3 separate regions of the Homo sapiens genome follow, and all the other regions are linked to region 3. The links are contacts of gene promoters, found by promoter capture Hi-C in human tissues and cell types (Jung and others, 2019). All regions are on one chromosome and are shown on one strand. Each heading gives the region's core, a stretch centred on a gene start or on the middle of the fragment in contact. The rest is flanking DNA. Distances are from core to core; before and after follow the strand shown.

The links. Contacts are between HindIII fragments. The study calls those that stand out against the background at their distance.
Region 1: a fragment that was not itself captured here is called in contact with the fragment with the promoter of GTPBP4 in region 3 in 1 of the 25 tissues and cell types used here (dorsolateral prefrontal cortex).
Region 2: a contact is called between a fragment that was not itself captured here and the fragment with the promoter of GTPBP4 in region 3, in 1 of the 25 tissues and cell types used here (dorsolateral prefrontal cortex).

The regions. Positions count from the first base shown.
Region 1 is chr10:540,350-543,049 of GRCh38, reverse strand. All of the region lies in intron 1 of DIP2C (disco interacting protein 2 homolog C), which reads left to right. Among named protein-coding and RNA genes, the nearest start is that of DIP2C-AS2, 87 kb to the left of the region's middle. RefSeq lists an enhancer at 810-1,310. The HindIII fragment of the contact is 5,024 bases long and covers 1-2,700 here.
Region 2 is chr10:595,578-598,409 of GRCh38, reverse strand. The region is part of intron 1 of DIP2C (disco interacting protein 2 homolog C); the gene reads left to right. Among named protein-coding and RNA genes, the nearest start is that of DIP2C-AS2, 32 kb to the left of the region's middle. The HindIII fragment of the contact is 4,963 bases long and covers 1-2,832 here.
Region 3 is chr10:986,795-989,834 of GRCh38, reverse strand. GTPBP4 (GTP binding protein 4) reads right to left here and starts at 1,401. Exons shown (of 17, transcript NM_012341.3): 1 at 1,308-1,401. The coding sequence starts at 1,355. It also overlaps a transcript of LARP4B not described here. The HindIII fragment of the contact is 8,297 bases long and covers 1-3,004 here.

The DNA.
Region 1 (2,700 bases), core at 110-2,609, 450 kb after region 3:
GTTTCTGACTTTTGGTATTGGTGTCATCGTCATCACTCAATGTTTGACTTTTCCTGGTGCTGAGGATGACTGCATGTGGCAGAAGCAAAGTGCTGGGCTTAGAAAAGAACTAGAATCTGATGATCTGTGGTATATAGAGAGGCAGGGTCAGAACCCCCCACTCCCCAATCCCGTAAGAACTGGGATCTGATGATCTGTGGTATAGAGAAGGGGGGAGGGTCAGAACCCCCCACTCCCCAATCTGATAAGAACTGGGATCTGGTGACCTGTGGTATAGAGAGGGACAAGGTCAGAACCCCCCACTCCCCAATCCGATAAGAACTGGGATCTGATGACCTGTGGTATAGAGAGGGACAGGGTCAGAACCCCCCACTTCCCAATCTGATAAGAACTGGGATCTGATGATCTGTGGTATAGAGAGGGGCAGGGTTAGAACCCTCCATTCCCCAATCCGATTGTTGAAGAAATAGTTGGCTTGGGAGGGTTTTTACTCTGAAGGTTGAAGCTGTGCATTTCTGGAGCCTGGGCTGTCGGCCGTAGTGGCTGGGGAATGCTGGGGCTGTGGTCGTCTGGCCGCTGGCAGTCCTGCTGGTGGGTCCTGCCTCTTTGACACCGTTCCTTTCTGAAGCTTGTTTTCCCCAGTGTTGGAAGTAGCAGCACTGGAGGAATGGCCTTCTTCCTACAGCAAAGCTCTGCCAGGAGAGGAGGAGAAGACATAGAGCATCTGTTGAGGGACATGACGTTCTGGGCACTGCACCATGCTTTCTGCTTCTCAGCAGTGCCTCCTGGTTGATGTTACCGTCACCTGGCATCGCCCAGGAGGTAACTCGCAGAGGCAGGCAGGGAGCAGAAGGAGCTCAGGAGGGAGTGAGCCGTCACAGGGTGGGGGAGGTTCAGGAGCCAGCAGGCAAGTGGGATGTGGCCTCAAGGTGTTGCTGGGTTGGTGAGGGGTCTTCTGGGACTTTTCTGAGAGTGCAGTCAGTTGTAGGGGTGGGTGCCGGCTCCCGCAGATAGAAGAGCCAAGTGTGCAGGAGACCAACGTGTGCACTGGGAGTCCCCAGGGGCGTGTCCTGGCACGCGGCCCAGAGGCCCCTGACAAGGCTCAGTGCACCAGGCACACAGCGGATTGTTGGTGCTTGACCCGACGAGAAGGTGAGGAAGTGAGGTGAGGGGGGCCGAGAGACAGGTGCAGGGATGCACTAGACAGGGTGCAGTCAGGTGGAGGGTCATGCTGTGGGGTCTAGGAGAGACAGGTGTGGTCAGGTGAAGGGTCACGCTGTGGGGTCCAGGAGAGATGGGTGTGGTCAGTGTGGAGGGTCATGCTGTGGGATCCAGGAGAGATGGGGGTGGTCAGGTGGAGGGTCACTCTTGGGGTTCCAGGAGAGACGGGTGTGGTCGGGTGGAGGGTCACGCTGTGGGGTCCAGGAGAGATGGGTGTGGTCATGTGGAGGGTCACGCTGTGGGATCCAGGAGAGATGGGGGTGTTCAGGTGGAGGGTCACACTGTGGGGTCGAGGAGAGATGGGTGTGGTCAGTGTGGAGGGTCATGCTGTGGGATCCAGGAGAGATATGGGGGTGGAGGGTCACTCGGGGGGGTCCAGGAGAGACGGGTGTGGTCGGGTGGAGGGTCACGATGTGGGGTGCAGGAGAGATGGGTGTGGTCAGGTGGAAGGTCAAGCTGTGGTGTCTGGGAAATGTGTTTTTGCTTTTGGCTGAGCAGCTGGACCTGAGCATGTCTGTGCTTTGACATTTAACCTGTGCACTGTCCTCGGCAGGGTGTGTGTGTCTGTGACAGAGGACACCTCAGCCAGAGTGGATGTCGGCGGTGGTGGCCGGACTCAGGGTCCATGAATGTTGCGTGGTAGAACGTGTTTGGTACATTCTCAGCTCCTGCCCAGGTGCCTCCCAAGCATCGGGTGTTGTGGCTCCCCAGCATCGGGTGTTGTGGCTCCCCAGCATCGGGTGTTGTGGCTCCCCAGCATCGGGTGTTGTGGCTCCCCAGCATCGGGTGTTGTGGCTCCCCAGCATCGGGTGTTGTGGCTCCCCAGCATCGGGTGTTGTGGCTCCCCACATCCTTCCCCATCTGCGTGTAGCACGACCACCACCTTCCTACCATGTGTTTGTCCTATCACGGCTGCTGTGTCTAATGCATGCTTTGCTTTCCAGCTACTTTACTATAATCAAAACCCTTGAAAGACTTTACCTGTGTTTCAGAGATGACAGGGTATTAGTCTTTCATGATTGCTCTGAGGATTTCCAAAAGCAAATGCACCTTACAGGATGCAAGAAATGGCAGACAGTAATTAGAGATTACTTTTCTCAGTTAGTCTTTTTATTGTGGTAAAATTACATAGCACTGTGACCATTTTTAAGTGTACGATTTGGTGGCATTAAGTGCGTTCACACTGTCATGCCACGATCACCGCCATATTCTTGGTCTCCCCAAGCTTGAAACTTGGTCTACCAAACACTAGCTTTCCTCCTACCCCAGCTCTGGTAAGCACTACAGATTGCTTATAGAATAGGCTTTTTCAGTGAGAGAAGGGGCAAGGAGAAGAGGACTCAAGACTGTCTTGAGATTTGAGGAAGTGTTTTAGGTTTTGCTCTCTGGTTCCCAGTGTAAAGGAACTATTGAAGATGTGGGAAGGTGGAAGCTCTGTGTGATCTCAGGAAGTGCTGGGCCGGGCAGCTTTCCCCCTGT
Region 2 (2,832 bases), core at 329-2,828, 390 kb after region 3:
GGAATGTCCATGTTGTGATTCTTCATTGATTTGAAGGTTGGAAAGGTTTGTGCTCAATGCAGGGGTCTCTTGGTGCGATGGGAAATGTGATCGCAGCTGCCCTCGGGGTGGGAAGAGAGGCCCTTGGTGGCCGGTGCCGGCTTTCACCTTCCTGGGTGAGCTGCCCTTGGGGTGGGGAGGGAGGCCCTCGTGGCCCTTGGTGGTGGCCGGTGCCGGCCTTGGCCTCCCCCAGTGAGTGCTGCTCCATCCCTGGTGTCTCCGACTCTTTGCCTGGCACTTTCCTCGTGGGAGGCCGTGATCCATCAGCCTTGTCCACGCGTGTCCTGCAGACTTGTGCTGACTCTGCAGGTCCAGCGGTGGTTAGAGGAGGCCCTCCTAAACGTTTAATGATGGCGCTGCTGAGTGCATGAAGCCACGTCAGCCCCAGAGTCCAGGTAGGGAACCGTGGGGTAGAGGGAAGAGTGGACAGATGGGTGCTTTCCTTGGCCCCTGGGGGCATGGCCAGGTCCACGTTCAGACCTCCTGGTTTCTCCCGTATTTCCATAAATAGCCAGGAAAGGACTCAGGACCCCTAGGACCTCATGGGTGTAAGCTGTGTCCTCGTGTGGCCCCAGCTGTGGCCAGTGACGTTATTCTCTTTAACCTCAAGCTTATTTTGTATAAAAACATGAAGGGACAGAAGTAGTTCAGGAGCCTCTGAAGACTTACGTAATTGTTAGTAGGCCTACTTTTATGATTTCTTACGTATTAAGAGCAAATCATGAAACAAACTCATTTCTGTTTGAAGGAATCTTTACTGTTCTCATTTTTGTGGCAAGTGACATTGATTCTTTGCATAGTGACAGCGTTAGTGCACTCCTGCCCAGCCCTGCTGCCCAGCGTGTCCTCGGCACACACCTCTGTCCATTGGTCTCCATTCACCAGGTCTCCATTCACCTTTCCACCTAGAATTGTAGGGGGGCACTGGGATATTGGGGCTAGAAGGAAACTCTGAAGACCACTTCTAGGGGCAGCTTAGTCAGGGCTCTCCAGAGAGACAGAGCCAGCCCGGTGTGTGTGTGTCCAGGGGGAGGCTTGCTGCAGGGGCTACGGAGGCCAAGAAGCCCCAGGACCCACTGCCTGCAACCTGGAGGCCTGGGAGGGTGTGGCTCAAAGGCTTGAGAAGCGGAGGGTGCAGATCCCACCCAGGTCTGAGGAGCTGAGACCCAGGAGCACCGGGGGCAGAAGACGGATGCCACTGGCCTGCAGCCAGACAGGTGGAGCGAGCCCAGCCTTCCCCGCCTTGCTGTTTTACTCGAGCCCTGGAGCCCTGGGTGGACAGGGTGGTGCCCCCTACACTGGCGAGGATGGGTCTCCACTTAGTCTCCACTCAGTCCAGAGGCAAACACACATCTCACACAGAAATAATGCAGAACCAGCCACCTGGGCACCCCGGGGCCCACTCAGGTCGATACACAAAACCAATGCCACGTGTGGCCCTCATGTCTGCATGTTCGCGTCACTATGCGCATTGCTCAGTCATCGCCTTGGTGAGCTTGAAAGCTCATTGTGTGGTTCTGGGTGTCTTTGTCCTGGGCAGTGGTGGTGATGACAGGCTCCCCACCACCCCAGCTCAGGCACAGGTGATGCCACCAATGGCTCCTTATTTCTCAGACGCTTGAGCCGGGTGCTCTGTGAAGCCAGTTCCACTTCCCGCAGCATCTGTTCCCTATGCCGATTCCATTCACAGTATGTGCCTTCCTTCCTTGGGGTGCAGCCTTCTGTCAGGGAGGAACTGTGTCCTATTCACCTACGTCTCCTGTGATGTATCTCATGGCTGAATAAGTACCTATAGGATACCTCGGTGGCAGAATGATAGGTTCATTGGAAGGAAAACTTAATACTTTTTTTTTTTTTTTTTTTTTTTTTTTTTTGAGATGGAGTTTCGCACTGGTCGCCCAGGCTGAAGTGCAATGGCATGATCTCGGCTCACTGCAACCTCTCCCTCCCAGGTTCAAGTGATTCTCCTCCTTTAGCCTCCCAAGTAGCTGGGATTACAGGCACCTGCGCCCGGCTAATTTTCGTTAGAGATGGGGTTTCACCATGTTGGCCAGGCTGGTCTTAAAGTCCTGATCTCAGGTGATGCACCCACCTTGGCCACCCAACGTGCTGGGATTACAGGCGTGAGCCACCGCACCCAGCAACTTAATATCATTTTTTATCATTTATAATGGGCTTGTTCAATACTTAGGTTACTTTTATTTTTTAAAACGTTATCTGTGACCTTTCAGCTTTTCATAGCACTTCTCGCGTGAATCTTTAAAAAAGGTCCTTTAGCCGTGGGGAAGGAGTTATCCGTTTGAGCAGAGGGAGGCGGAGGAACAGGCCTTAGTGGGTCTGAGCACAGGCAGTCACCCCAGCCTTGGTGCTTATTTACGTCTGTTTTCCATTCACCATAGCAGTGTCCACTCTTTGTCGGCTTAAAAATAAGCTTTTTCCTCCGCTTTCTAATCAGAACAGTTAGTTTGTTAACCATCCCTTTATCAAGAACGATGGCTGTCAGGCCTCAGATTATGACACAAGTAGTAAGTGCGGCTGACCCTGAACAACATGGGCTTGAGCTTCGAAGGATCATTTACGTTAATTTTTTTTCCCAACCAAACCCTTATTGAAAAAACCTGACTTTGTGGAGGGCCGACATTTCCTACATGCAGCTCCACAGGGTGGGCGCGGGTCCTGCGGACGCGTGGATTTCGGTAAACCCGGGGTGTCCTGGAACCGATGTCCCTGTGTAGATGGAGGGACAACTGGAGCTTTTTAAAAGTTTGTGTCCTGCCTTGTTCTAAAAAGGCT
Region 3 (3,040 bases), core at 152-2,651:
AACCTGGGAGGCGGTGGCTGCAGTCAGGATCACACCACTGCGCTCCAACCTGGCCAACAGAGCGAGACTCCATCTCAAAAAGAAAGAAAGAAAATACTACAATCGATCAAGAGATGTGCCAGAACAACTGTCAGGAAGAAATAAGAAATGGTGGAGAGAAGTGGGGAAACAACTTTTGCTATGAAGGTAAAATACGAGACTCCCACAAAGCTTTCCAAGGCAAGCTCATCCCGTCCTTGAGACCTGAAGAAAAGGAGGCACTGACGAGGGGAAAACAGTCACTCTGCAGGGACTTCAGTAACTCCCTCTCGTGCAGGAGTCCCTGGGAGGCTCCAGTTGCCCGTCAATGTCTGTGTAATTGCGACCCAAATCGAATGTTCACTACATAAAAACGTGACTTCTTAAAAGTCCTAATACTAGGGCCGGGCGCAGTGGCTCACGCCTGTAATTCCAGCACTTTGGGAGGCCGGGGCGGGAGGATCACCCGGGATCAGGAGTTCGAGGCCAGCTTGGCCAACGTGGTGAAACCCCGTCTCTACTAAAAATACGAAAATTAGCTGGGTGTGGTGGTGCACGACTGTAATCCCTGTTACTCGGGAGGCTGAAGCAGGAGAATCGCTTGAACGCGGGAGGTGGAGGTTGCAGTGAGCCGAGACTGCGCTCCAGCCTGGGAAACAAGAGCGAAAAACTATGTCTCAAAAAAAAAAAAAAAAAAAAAAAGTCCTAATACTCAACACTTGTTGACTCATTCTTGCCACACCAACCAACGCTGTAAAAATTTAGTCTGGGCCTACTATGGTCTGAAAAGGAACAGGTATTCCCAAATCTAACAGTGAAAGAGAATGACTTAAAAATTATGAAACGTTAAATCACGAGAACAACGAACCCAGGATTCCTGAGAGGGGAGGGGGCTACGCCAAACCCAGAATCCGAAGGCTCATCACGGACCACGGAACGCTTCCTCCCTCACATGTCGGGGTCCCCCTCCACTCGCCCACATCGTCACCCGGGGCCCCTCCAGGGAACCCAACTCTGGGTGTACCCCCATCTCTGGGGGCCCTCAGTCTTTGGGTGGACCACGGTCTTAGGTGGACCCCGGTCTCTGGGGGATCCGATCTCTGGTGGACCCCGGATTCTGCTGGGGGAGGGGAAATGATCCCGAGTACGCGGCCAGACGGTCAGGCCCAGGAGCGGGGGATGGGCGAGCGGAAGGCGACCGCTCTCCCACGGCTACAGGCCCGGACCCTCCCCGGGGACCCAGCTGAGGAGAACGCGAAAGTTGCAGTGGCCCTCCCGGGGCCGCCTACCTTGGCGGACGGCACCACCGTAATTTTCTTGAAGTTGTAATGTGCCATGCCGGCAGCCGTATGCACGCGGGTACTTGGCACTCCCGGAACTTCCGCCGTCGGGCGCAGGTGGGACTTCCACTGTCGGGCGGTTGAGGTACGTCACTTCCGGGAGCTCAGCCAATCGTGTTCTGCGTGCTCTACGGCGCTTTCCGCGTCGCACAGCGCACCCGCCCGGCTTGGAGGTCAGCCACGGAGGGCGTGTGAGGGCCTCAGGAGCGAGGGTACAGAGGAGAGGACGCCCGGGTTTTAGGGGGAGCGCGGAGACTAAATTCCTGCTGAGTAAAGCGGGGGTTTCCGACAGACTGCCCTGCGGGTTTCTGGAGCGGGTTCAGGCCCCCAGCCACGCGCCCTGGGCCAGGGTTGGAGGGTCCGGGGTCTTGGGATTTGGGAGTTGCGGGGCTTAGGAGTCCAGAGGGTCTAGGGGATCCGGGAGTCTGGGGGTCCTGGGTCGCGGCGAGCCCCGCAAAGGAGGAGGAAGCCGCGCGTGCGGGGCGTGCCCAGCCTCTGGGTGTGGAGCAGATGACGCCCCTACCCCGGCCTCGCGCGTGGGACTTGATCCCGGGCCGTGGTGAGGAGGCCCTCGCGGCTTCCCTGCAGCCCTGCTTTCTCGTGCTTGTTAAATCCCAAAACGGGCGGAGAAGGGAAAGCCTGATCTAAGGCAAAAGAGGTGCAGCTGGTTCCGCGCAGTGCCTTAGGAGAGCCCAGGGAACAGTTGCGAGAGACAGTCCTGTGGGGTCCAACTGAGGAGAAGGTTGATGAGGATGGAGCCTTTACTGCTTTTATGTTTGTGAATAGAGTGGCCGCTCCCTTTGGGAACCCAGGGCCACATCCCTTAAATTAAACGTTAGGTAGGGCTGACTCAGTCAAGCAGTGTTCAGAGCTGCTGACTATATATTAACTCGTTTAATTTCTGCAACAGCCTCATGAAGTGCATGGGGAAACAAAGGCACACAAGGCTCGAAAGCACCCCGTGGTTGTGCAGCTGACAAGCTAACAGGCAGCAGAGGTGGGCTTTGAACCCAGGCAGCCTGGCTCCAGCAAACCTGCTTCTAACCATTAGCTATACTGCTTCTCACGCATCTGGGATGCCCCCCACTCTCCAATCCTTTTAAACAAGTCCTATTATTCTTACGCGAAAATACCTCTCATAAATTCCCAGCATTCCAATATTGAAAATCATTCTGGGTCATGCTTTTCTCATCTATTAACTATGCTTCCATTTTTGTGTCACAAGGCGGATAAGCATACCTCCTACATCTTTGTGGCACTTCTAAAGGAAGCTTCTAGGGTAATTAGGATTTGCTGGCTATGATCATTTGCTAAACCACAGGACAGTTCTGGCCACCATTTCCGAGATTAGCAAAGCTATGCTCATACTTATTGCCCTTTCTTTTAGGTTCTTGTATGTTTCCTCAACCTCTCCCACTTTCTCTCACTCTGATATAGCCAGTTCCTCTTTTTCTTGTAATCCGGTATTTAGATAAGTCCAGTCAATACTTTGCTTCAGATGGGCAAACATCCTTTCTTTAATTTTTTTTTTTTTTTTGAGACGGAATCTCACTCTGTCGCGCAGGCTGGAGCGCAGTGGCGCCATCTCAGCTCACTGCAACCTCCGCCTCCAGGGTTCAAGCCATTCTCCTGCCTCAGCCTCCCAAGTAGCTGGGATTACAGGCACCTGCCACCACTCCCGG